Linked DNA regions of Homo sapiens: region 1 is linked to region 2. Evidence: promoter capture Hi-C in 16 types of primary human blood cells and fetal thymus (Javierre and others, 2016). All regions are on one chromosome and are shown on one strand. The core of a region is centred on a gene start or on the middle of the fragment in contact, and the rest is flanking DNA. Distances in the headings are between cores, read along the strand shown. Region 1 has its middle 21 kb from the start of TSPAN33. Region 2 holds the start of IRF5 (interferon regulatory factor 5).

Region 1 (5,606 bases), core at 2,267-4,766, 190 kb after region 2:
CCAGGGTGCCCCCTAATAGCTCTGACTTCACTAGTACCCAACCTTCTCTCAGTACTTTGAGGGATTAAGACAAAAATATCACATCATAAGTCTGATGCTGAAACAAGTTTGTTCCTTTAATGAGATAGTTTTTGACAAATTGGATCCAACATCTCCTGTTAAAATGGAAATACATATTTAGAGTCGTGGTAGGGCAGGTAGACAAGTAACAAGCCTGAGTGGCCATCACCACATTGGTATGAATTAATTTAGGAACAAAGAAAAACTTCCTGGGAGGATATGATCTATAATGGGATGGTTGGGGGGGGGGGTTGTTAGTGGTGGTGGTAATGGGTTATTTTAGTTTTGAATGTGTGTGTTGCAGGGAAGGAAAAAGGTTGGTGGAGAGTTCAGAGCCAAAGCCATGCTGAATGACAGGTGGAAGACAGTCTGATGGATCATAGTCACTGTTCTTAAAGAATACATAATTCAGGCTTGCATGAGACAAGATGAACCACTGACATCCTAATTTCTCAAAGTAGTCATTGGAAATGGAAAGAAGAGCCAGGATTTATTGGAGGGTATATTCACACAGAAGGGGTTCATGAAGGTGAGGGACCCTTTCACCTCCCCACTGGGCAGAAAGCACTTGCCAGAAGAAAGGGTTGCAAAAGAAGGTTGAACTCAGCAAGAAAAGTGCCTTGGGTCAGTCTCTGTACTGCTAAATAGGGCCTACCACCCTACCCTGCCAATCCCTACATAGGCCCTGTCTTCAGTAAACACTAGAGTTCGCTTACCTTCCATTCCAAGAACCAATCTGACATCTGCTGTATTAGTCTGTTTTCACACTGCTGATAAAGACATACCCGAGACTGGCTAATTTACAAAAGAAAGAGCTTTAATGGACTTACAGTTCCACATGGCTTGGGAAGCCTCACAATCATGGCGGAAGGCAAGGAGGAGCAAGTCACATCTTACATGGATGGCAGCAGGCACAGAGAGGGCTTGTGCAGGGAAACTCCTATTTTTAAAACCATCAGATCTCATGAGACTTATTCACTATCATGAGAACAGCATGGGAAAGACCTGCCCTCATGATTCAATTATCTCCCACCCAGTCCCTCCCACAACATGTGGGAATTCAAGATGAGATTTGGGTGGGAACACAGCCAAACCACATCATCTGCTGTGCCTCATCCCACAGATAGCAGAGCTTCCTCCTAATCTATCAAGAGTTCAGCATTTAGTGAGTGGTCAGGATCTCACCCTTCATTTAACCAACTAACCACCACCAACCAACCACCACCATCAGAGGTGGGCCTAAGGCAGGCCTTGGGGTCTCTGGGAAGTGGGCCATGCTCAGTCTACATCCCAATGTGCTATGGCTCCTGACACTCTGAGCAGGGGCTCTCCCTTGCACACACCAAAGGAATGACTGGGCTTAAAAAACGTGCCAACTTGCTTATAAATCAGTCTCCTCAGATTCTACAATTCACCGAGCCATAAAACCTCAGAGCTTCAAAGATGCTTAGAAAATATCAAGGCCAGGGTTCCCAGGAAGCCTCAATGCTGCCATTTTACAAAGGAAGAAACTGAAGTGCAGAGAGATTAAGGGGCTTGTCCAGGTCACACAGCTACTTAGTGGTAGATCTGTAACTAGAAAGGTTTCAGTTCACACTCAATGTTCTTTCCTCTAGAATCTAACCTCTGCCCCCTTGTTATTTTTGGCATGAGAGAGGAGGATTATATTTATGTCTCTAGAAAAGCTGTGCTTTTGGATTGAATTCTGATTTTCTCTTCTCAAGTCTCATTGAGAACCACATGAAAAAACTCTGCTGGATTTGAGTTAAAAAAAAAAAAAAAAGAATCTGAAGAAAAAAATAGCAAATCTGGTATCCTAATGAGATAATGAATGCACAAGTACTTTGAAAGAGGTACAGCACTTCAGTGCTTTTCAGATATGAGGTTTTGTCATGCTCTTGAAAGAAATGCATAGGCTTTACTGACATGGGGGCTGGGGCTGGGGCTGGGGCCCTGGCAGAAATGGGGAAGCACAGGCTGTGGCAAGGGGGGTTTCTCCAGAAGGCTGACTCATTTCTTGGCTGTCCCAAGCTTAGAGAGCCAGATTTCTTAGGGTTGTTTACCACCTTAGTAAGGAACTGGTGGAGGGTTTTTTTCTGGAGTTAAGCACTGCAGGAAGAGCTGCCCACAGTATGGGGGTGGGTCATCTGCTTCTGGACTGCCCAGGCCAACTGTGGTTACCCCAGTTAACTGTGGTGAACTGTCCACATAACCAGCCTTCTGGATCTGCCTTTCAAGGAGTCCCACTGTGCTTCTCCCTGCTGAGGCCGCTGAAAGGGCATAGGCAATTGCTAGAGGTGAAGAAAAACTCTGTAGCTAAGCTATAAAAACAGGCATCCTGAATCTGGCTACATCCTGGTAATCTTGCACATAGGATGAATCCTAAGAAAAGGTGAGTCTTGTTAATGTGCACAGCACACAAGCCAGCGGGATGGCGTGCCAGTCAGCAGATTTTCAGTTTCAAGATAACTGAAAATCCATTTTTATCTGACTTAGACAAAATGAAACAAAACACCAAACCAACAAACAACAACCACACAATTTCACTGATTCGCATAACTGAAAAGTCTAAGGTTAGGGCTTGTTTCAGGCACCACTGATCTTGTGGCTCAAACTATGTCACTGGGACTTGGTTTAACCCTGTCTCAGCTCTACCTTTCCTCAGTGTTACCTTCTCTCTCAGGAGCCCTGGGGTAGCCCCCAGTGGCTGCAGGTCATCTGTAATCCCAGGGGGTCCCAGCAAAAGAGAGAGGGAATCCCTTTCAGTAATGGTCCTCCTCCCCAACTAAATTAGAGGCTTCATTCTGACTGGACCAAGTTAGAGCGCATAACCATCCCTGGGCTCTGATTGGCCAGAACAGAGTCCGGCGTTCCACCTGCCAGGTGGAAGGGTAGATCTCTCCCATGCTCACTGAGCCTGAGACAGGAGGTGGGGTGGCATCCCAAAGGAAATCTAGCATGCTGGTACCAGAACGGGGAATAGGTGCTGGGCTTGGAAAAATAACAGACAAACACTCAGTGCTACCCATTTAAGCATTTGAAATAATTTCACTTCAAAATCAGAGTGGTCGAGTCTCAGACACATGAGATTCTGTCTCAGATTTCTGGTGGCTTGAATGGAGGGTGTACAGAATCATGTCTTGATAAATGTTTAACTTCTAAGATTTGAAGTGCAGATATTGGTCTGGGTATCCCTCCTAGAAATCTTTGCATTTTCTGCATTTTCTTTTTAATATTTTATTTTTATTTTTATTTTTATTTTTTTGAGACAGTGTCTCAGTCACCCAGGCTGGAGTGCAGTAGTGCGATCTTGGCTCACTGCAACCTCCGCCTCCCGGATTCAAGCGATTCTTGTGCTTCAGCATTCGGAGTAGCTGGGACTACAGGTGTGAGCCACCACGGCTGGCTAGTTTTTGTATTTTTAGTAGAGACAGGGTTTTGCCATGTTGCCCAGGCTGGTCTCGAACTCCTGGCCTCAAGTGATCCTCCTGCCTCAGTCTCCCAAAGTGCTGGGATTACAGGCGTGAGCCACTCACTGCACCTAGCCTATATTTGAATTTTAAATAGTGATTCCACACCTTAACCTAACCATAATGGGAATTGGATTAGAGAATGGTGGGAATTTCAGACAAGTTGGTGAGGGTGAGAAGTAAGGGAAGAGAAACGTTATGGAACCTCTCACATAAAAAGTGCACAGTGGCCTACCCCTATATGGATGTGAGACTGCTCCTGATAGGAAATATCCCCAAACCCCTTGTTTGCAGTCCACGGCCCCAGTCTCAACTCCACCAAATCATGATGCTTCCCCTGAGATCATGATTGCGTTGCCCAGTTTCCTCTCTGACCAGACCTGATTCTACAGACAAAAGCCAACCTCCTCACTTCGATTCCCCTGGATCCTTTCCTCCTCTTCACATCTACAGCCGCTCTTCTAACTTCTTACTCCCGTTGCAATTCCAGATATTCCAGAGACAGGATATCTCCAAGGCACTCCAGGGCCCCAAATAACAAACCTTATTTGTTTTCCACCTCACACAATCTGAACTCTTCTGCCTGCCCTTTGAAACCCTTCGCGAACACCTCCAACCTTATTTCTTGCTCCTCCTCAATACAGCCTGTTCTGGTTGGCACAGCCTCACCTCTTACCTTTGCCACGATGCTACTCCTGCTGCGTCACTCAGTTCTGCATGGTGAGTCTCCTCCATCCACTGTGATCTGGAACCACGTCATTGTCAGTGGAGGTTGAATACAACTGGAATTTTTTATGGGATTCTAACAGACCTGTCCCTGATAATGGCGTGCCCCTAATTTCCGTTCTTTACTGACTACTCATTGGCTGTATCACTCTAGTTGCACAAATGATCTCTATCTCCCTCTATGCATGCCTACTAGGTCCAGGGAAGTAATATAGTGTTTGTAACTAGGAGTGGTAAAGATGATGGCTAATTGGAGAGAGTAAGCTCAAGCTAAAAGCATTCAAATTCAATTTTTTTTTTTTTTTTGAGACAAGGTCTAGCTCTCTTGCCCAGGCTGGAGTACAGTGGCATGATCACAGCTCGCTGCAGCTTCAAACTCCTGGACTCAAATGATCCTCCCACCTCAGCCTCCGGAGTAGCTGGGACTGCAGGTGCTCACCACTATGCCCAGCTAATTTTTTTTAAAAAAAAAATTGTGGAGACAGAGGTCTTTCTATGTTGTTCAGGCTGGTCTTGAACTCCTGGGCTCAAGTGATTCTCCCATCTTGGCCTCCCAAAATGCTGGGATTACAGACATGAGCCACCGTGCCCAGCTCAAATTCAAAAATTTTAAGACATTATGGGACAAAGAAAATTCACCTGTCCATCCAAATAATGTAATGTGCAATAAATCTGCAACCACTGCTTAAGCTTGTCTTGAAGTTTTTCTGTTTTGCAGGACTCTTCCTGAGCAGTACATTTTCTTCTCTTCTAACAGAGTTAGAATTTATTGCTTACAACTCTTTCAGAAAATGGCAGTAATTAGAAATGGAGTCTGAGGAGGGGGATTTGCTCAAAATACGAGTATCGTTTCTTTACCATTTTTCTTTAGCAATGTATTCTGTAATCATAAATGAGCTACATGAAGATCTGAGCACAGCCTGGAAATATTGCATGTTTAATATCAGCCTCCTTTCCCTTCTTCAGAATTAAACTCTGGATCCTTCCTAGACTTGGCCAGTTCCAAGTCACGACTTCGTCAGATACACTCTTGCTGTAAGAAGCAGTAAAGTTCAGTGGTTATGATCACAGACCTAGAGCTGGTCTATCTGGGTTTAAAGCCAGACTCTATAGCTTTCTGGATGTGGCTGTCTGTTTAACCTTGGGCAAGCTAGGTGACCTCTGTTTGCCTCAGTTTCCTCATTTGTGAAGTGCGGATAATAATAGTACCTACCTCATGTCATCGTTTTAAGGATTAAATGAATTAACACATTTAAAATATAAGAAGTTTGAAAAGCTCTTGGACTCCGGCTGCAGCGTCAGCCTCCCTCGGGCCTCGGCAGCGGCGGCGGCTCGCTCGCCTCAGCCCCA
Region 2 (5,983 bases), core at 1,607-4,106:
GAGTCAGGGGAGGGTGCCTCCTACCACACCCTCAGTCTGTGATATTCCAGCCAGGGGAAATGGGGGAAGGGGCCATCTCACTGTGGGGAGTGGGGGGCCCGGACAGACCTCCCTGTCCCCACCGCCTCCTGGCCCATCAAGGGGAAATGGGAGTGCTCACACAAGGGCCGGGTGTGGCTTCACTTCCCCTCTACTTGCCCTTCCACCCCCAGGATGGCACTGGGAGGCCAAGGGATCCCAGATCCTGGAAACACTGGAGTGCTGCTCTCTGTCCTTCCTTTCTCCTGGGCCATGTCTCTGGCCCCAGATGATTCTTGGCTCAGGTTCTTTCAGTTGAGGGAAGTCAGGATCTGAGCCAAGCTGAGCCCCTGCATAGCCTCTATCCCGGGAGCCCCATATCAATGCTGCCGGCTTGGTAACATCATCCCCCTTTTAGAGACGAGGAAATGAGATTTGAGGTCCTACTTAAGGCCACTTGGCTGGAATACAGCAAAGCCAGGTGCAAGCCCCTTCTCTGCACGCAGCCCGTGCTGCTTCTTGAGGTTCAGAGGCTCTAAGGAAGGGGCCTCACCTGAGCAAGATGGACAGTGGGAAGGGGGCAGAGGGCAGAATTCTAGGGTCTCACGGTCCCTCAGAATGGGTGAGGAGTATTTGATAACAAAAGAAGGCTCTTCTTAGCTATTGCTCCAGATACGACCAGCATAGAATATTTTTCTATTAAGCATAACTGACCTCCAGTGAAAAAGGTTCCCATTTTGTGGGGAGCCACTTTTGAAATAGCAATTTCATTTTATTATTATTATTTTGAGATAAGATCTCACTTCTACGCCCAGGCTGGAGTGCGGTGGTGTGCCTCCTGGGTTCAAGCAATTCTCCCACCTCAGCCTCCCAAGTAGGTGGAACTATAGGTGTGTGTCACCACGCCAGGCTAATTTTTGTATTTTTTGTAGAGACAAGGTTTTGCCATATTGCCCAGGCTGGTCTCGAACTCTTGGACTCAAGTGATCTGCCTGCCTTAGCCTCTCAAAGTGTTGGGATTACAAATGTGAGCCACCGTGCCTGGCCTAGCAATTTCATTTTTAAAGAAAGAAATATAAAACGATCTACCCATTCACATTTTCCCCATCCATACTTTAAATTTTAAAAATATGAAATAATGAAATACTCAGCAGATACAAATAATAAAATACTTATATATAATGATATTTCGACTTCATATTAGGGCTTCAAAGGTCAGGAAAGAGGGAGAGATACAGAAGAGAAAAAAAAAAAACGTTAACACATGAGTGTCTTTTTTTAACTTGTTAAAGGTAAAGTTCAACCCAGGAGAAGGGAGGGGAGGGAAGGTCAAAGTTCTGATTCATCAACAAATACTACTTTATTTGTTAAAAATACAAGGCTCTGCTTGGCGCAGTGGCTCCCGCCTGTAATCCCAGCACTTTGGGAGGCCAAGGCGGGTGGATCGCCTGAGGTCAGGAGCTCGAGACCAGCCTGGCCAACATGGTGAAACCCCGTCTCTACTTGGGAGGCTGAGGCAGGAGAATCGCTTGAACTGGGGAGGCAGAGGTTGCAGTGAGCTGAGATCGCACTGCTGCACTCCAGCCCGGGTGACAGAGCAAGACTCCATATCAAAAAATAAAATAAAATAAAATGAACAATGAAAAGACAGGAGGGAGGTTCCTGAGTAAGCTGATTCGAGTGGAAATCAGACATCAAAATTGAAACCCGCTGAATTTTCCAAAAAGCCAGATGCTCATAGAACTGAAGCTTGAGACACTTACATCAGTACACCTGCTGCCTGTTGACCAATTCCTCTTCCTTGTCCCTCCTGTTTTCCTTCCCTGCTATATAAGCCCCTAACTTTAGTCAAGGGGAGGGATGGATTGGAGGTTTGTCTCCCCTCTCAACAGCTCACTGGCTGATGTCACCGGAATAAAGTCTTCCCTGGCAATACTCGCTGTCTCAGTGATAGGCTTTCTGTGCGGTGAGCAGCCAGACCTGGACCAAACCCCTGGCAATCCATAACAAAATCATAAGCAAAATCAACCAGGAAGCTATTTGCACCCTGGAACCCCACCTGGGAGGGGAAGTCAAGGCAGACTTTCCAGAGAAGGCGATGCTGAAAATTTCAGAAACAGAAATTTTGAAGAGCAAGAGTTACCAAGCGAAGAACATTCCATGAGAAGGAACAGGAGGTGTGTGAAGGTGGAGGTTCTGGGGTGAGGTTCTTTATGGAATCGAAAACGGTTCAGAACCACAGGTCGACGGTCAAGGTAGTAGTGAGAGGAGGTGGGACAGGCGACCACGCCGCTGCCCCTGGGATGACTGGAAGGCGACTTAGGGGAGCTGGGGCGAGACAGGTGCAGGGTTTGAGGATGAGAAAGGCACAGAGTGACTAGAGGATTCCCGCCTGCAAGCACATCTGGAAGGGGTGTCTGGATCCTGGGGGCAGCGACTGTGTTCTAGGGCGAGAGCCACCCTCGCCAGGGGTGTAGGCAGGCGAGAGGAGGGCCTGGAGCTGTGGGTCGGCCACACTGCGCCCTCATTTGTGTGCAGCCCCGGAGGACCAGAGTGGGGAAGCACCCCACCCTCTCCCAGGGCCCAACTGAGCACTGCAGCGGGAGGTACGGGGTTGTCAAATGACAGTTTTGCCATTCCAGATTGCCAAAAGAGCCAGTGGCCAGTCTAGGGCACCGCGCCGTCTGGCATCTCCCTGGAGGCCCTGGGCCTGGCCCGAGGCTCAGCCCGGATCTGCAGTTGCCAGGTCAGTGCGGGGCCCGGAGTGGATTCGCGGGGCGGGGCGGGGCACTGCCCGCGCCCGGAGCTCAGCAGCAGCTGCCCAGGGGCGGGGGCGGCAAGACGCGGAAGTGCCCGGCAGGTTGGCGGACCGGCGGGAGGCGCAGCCTGGGCAGAGCTCAGCTTGGTCCCGCCGCCCGGCCGGTGCTCCCTGGCGCAGCCACGCAGGCGCACCGCAGACAGGTGGGTCCCGGCCGCCGCGCTCTCCTCTCTGCGTCCGCGCCCGGCGCGCCCCGAGGGTGGCGGGAGCGGTGCCGGCTACTGCCCCCAAGTCTAGGCCTAGACTGGGCCCCGCGCCCCCCAGGCACCTGCGGGCGGCGGGATGAAGACTGGAGTAGGGCGGGGTCCGCGTCCAGCTGCGCCTGGAAAGCGAGCTCGGGTGGGTGCCTACAGCAGGGTGCGCCCGGCCGGCCTGGGACTTCCAAAGCGCCTCCCACGCCCCGATCGGTTTGGGGTGCTGGCGCCCGGGGAGCCCAGTGACCCAGGCGGCGGAGTGGGCAGCGCTGCGGGGGGCGCCGGCTCTGCTGCTCTCCCTCCCCCTCGCCATCGCCCAGAATGGGGGTTCCCGGGAGCCCCGCTGGAGGCTGGCTTGGACCACAGAGGAGCGAGGCCCGATCCTTACTTTCGATGCACTCGCCCTTGCTCTTACCGGGCCACCCTCACCCTTTCGGAAAAGAGGTTGAGGTTAAAGCGTTCATCCCCCGGGATCTTCAGGCCAATGGCAGGAACTGTGCAAGAGTTTGGGGGAAGATGGTGTCAGGTAGAGGCTGCGTCCCTGGGCTCGCGGCCGGGAATGGCAGACTCTCGTCCCCCGAGCAGCGGAAAAGGATGGGGCGCAATAGTTCCTGGGCTGGTTTCCTCAGGTCCTGTCCCAGAACTTAAGAAGGCAACAATGAAGAGGCTAAACGTGGAGGAAAAGTGAGGCTAGCATGGCCGGGATGCGTGGGGAGATGGTTGTCTCCGGACCCCGGGAGGGGCGGGAGCGGGTACCTGGGAGCAGAGGCTGGAGTGGGGGACTTTCCCAGCCTCGCGGCCACGCTGAACACAGCAGGGCGAGGACCGGGGTGCTGCTCCTCCAGCAGCAGGAGGAGAGGTCCAGAGGCCGACTCTGGAGGTGGGGGTGGCTCCGCGGGCTGGCCCAGGGGGTGTGCCCCAGCGGAGCACGCGGGAGGGGTGGGGGCGGAGGGGAGGGGGGAGCAGGGGCGGAGGACTGGGCTGGGCCTGGGCTCCTCGAGGGCCCAGAATGGGGATAAGTGACCAGAACCAGAGAGGGCTCGGCTGTATCGATGTAGGAAACTGTAGCCCCTCAGGAGGCCCTCTGGCAAGACCTCCCCTTCCTGCCCCCACCCCCAGTAGTTATGGGGCCTGGGGTGCTGGGGCTGAGGGGTTCCAAGAGTCAAGGGAAGCACTGGGAAATCACCCCTTTTTATCTAAAGGCCCTACTTTGGGGTTTTTCCCCTGTACCCTGGTCTTCCCCTACCCTGACCCTGGGAGGAAGCTGAAAGAAGCTTCTTTCTGGGCACCTTTTGCCCCAGAGCCTCAGCCTGTCTGGACCAGGTGGGCAGCAGGGCCCAGGGTGTGGGCAGCTGACCCGGAGGGGTGGGATTTGGGGGTCAGGGCCTGTACAGGGAACCCCTTGTCCTCTCCCTGAGCTGGGTGTGGGTTTGCAAGGAGACATGTGACCCAGACCAACCCTGGGAGCAGCAGGGCGCCTGCTGTCTGGCCACTCTTACTAGGACTGCTGTGGCACTTCCTCCCCTAGTGGGTCCCTGGTGCCCATGAATTGCAGCTCCTGGGTGGTGGTGGGGGCACTGTCTCCTGGGACTCCAGCATGGCCCTGGGGTGAGCTGTGGGCTTACCCCACCTCAGCAGGTCCTCTAGGGCTGCCCACTGGATGCTTCGCTGCCTCACACAATTGTAGGGACTTCCTCAGGCTGTTGGATTTCCCCACCTTCCGGGGCTCAGGTCCATTGACTTAGGTCTAGGGCTCCATACATTTCACCCAGAGACTCCGGAGCCTGGCAGGCAGACCTGTTCTGACACCGAACTTCCAAAGTCATGGGCCTTGATTGGGGTGGTCTGAATTAGACCTAGCCCTTTTCTGGGCAGAAGGGAGCTTCTAGGAGGATGGATGCTGTTCGGGTTAGAGCTCGTGTGGACCTAGCTGCAGGCAAAAGCCTTGAGGCTGAGTCCCTTCTGTGGCATGGTGGACAGACTCTCGCTCATCACAGCCGGGCTTGTCACGGGAGCTCCTCCTCCACACCCCTCCCTAAGCTGCCTGTATGGACGCGGCCCTCTGACACTGAGGTCGGAGTTATCATTTCAAAACCTTGCTCTGTATTAAACAGCCGTGTTGGGCAGGGCCAGACTGCTGGACTGACAGTAGGGGGCAGGCAGCCGGACCCTCTGAGCTCCCCAACGGCACCAGCGCCTGCACGGCCTCAGCCCAGGGGGTCATTAGGGAAGCTCTCCCCGATTCTGTGCAGACAGAGCTTCCTCTGTCCACCCTTGCTCGGCCAGAATTGTGTGCCGCTGGTGACTGGCACCCCTCTATTCTAGGGCCAAGGCCTCTCAGGGGTCTACAGATACAACTATGGGTGGGTGCACACCCATGTTATAAACCACACTAAATGCACAAAAACTGTCTGCAAGTTTGGGGTGCGGGGAACAGCTCTGGGTGGGAGGTTGGAAATTTGGTCTGGGGGACCCACTCGGCTCCCTCCCTCAGCCCACAGTGAGTCTGGTTTCTGAGTTGTCCCGGTCTAGCCACTTTCGTTTCCCCTGGGGCCGGGTGGAGGCTGGGGCAGAAAGCGGAACTGAGCCCGCGTGTTCTGAGGCCAGGGCAGGGCTGGAGCGTTCTGAACACCTCCCCGTCCCAGCCCCTGGGCCAGGCAAGGGCCGGCCTTACCTCTCCTGGGTTGGTGGCAGCAGAGCTGGGCTCTGAGGGAGGCCTGCAATGTGAGACAGTAGCAGCTCAGAGGCGGCACTAGGCAGGTGCAACCCCAAAAGGTACTGGGCAGGGAATTTCAGGGGAAACTGAGGCTCCATGCTGCAAGGCCAAAGCAGGCCCAGACACAGGGAGTTCAGCTCGAACGTTTGCTCCTTACTTGCTGACCGACACATTCACTTCTGATGGGCTGTGCTGTGTAATGACCCAGTCCTTTCTGTCTTCCACCCAGGGGTCTCA

What was found. Contacts are between HindIII fragments. The CHiCAGO score rates a contact against its expected background, and 5 or more counts as called.
Region 1: a fragment that was not itself captured here is called in contact with the fragment with the promoter of IRF5 in region 2 in 1 of 17 cell types (M1 macrophages); the score reaches 5.2 in M1 macrophages.

The regions. Positions count from the first base shown.
Region 1 is chr7:129,120,739-129,126,344 of GRCh38, forward strand. It overlaps the pseudogene LOC407835. Among named protein-coding and RNA genes, the nearest start is that of TSPAN33, 21 kb to the right of the region's middle. RefSeq lists enhancers at 1,497-1,666, 2,117-2,386. The HindIII fragment of the contact is 2,855 bases long and covers 2,090-4,944 here.
Region 2 is chr7:128,935,071-128,941,053 of GRCh38, forward strand. IRF5 (interferon regulatory factor 5) reads left to right here and starts at 2,857. Exons shown (of 9, transcript NM_001098629.3): 1 at 2,857-2,979. RefSeq lists enhancers at 1,185-1,479, 3,147-3,730, 3,764-3,833, 5,324-5,553, 5,664-5,713 and a silencer at 2,724-3,483. The HindIII fragment of the contact is 2,537 bases long and covers 1,766-4,302 here.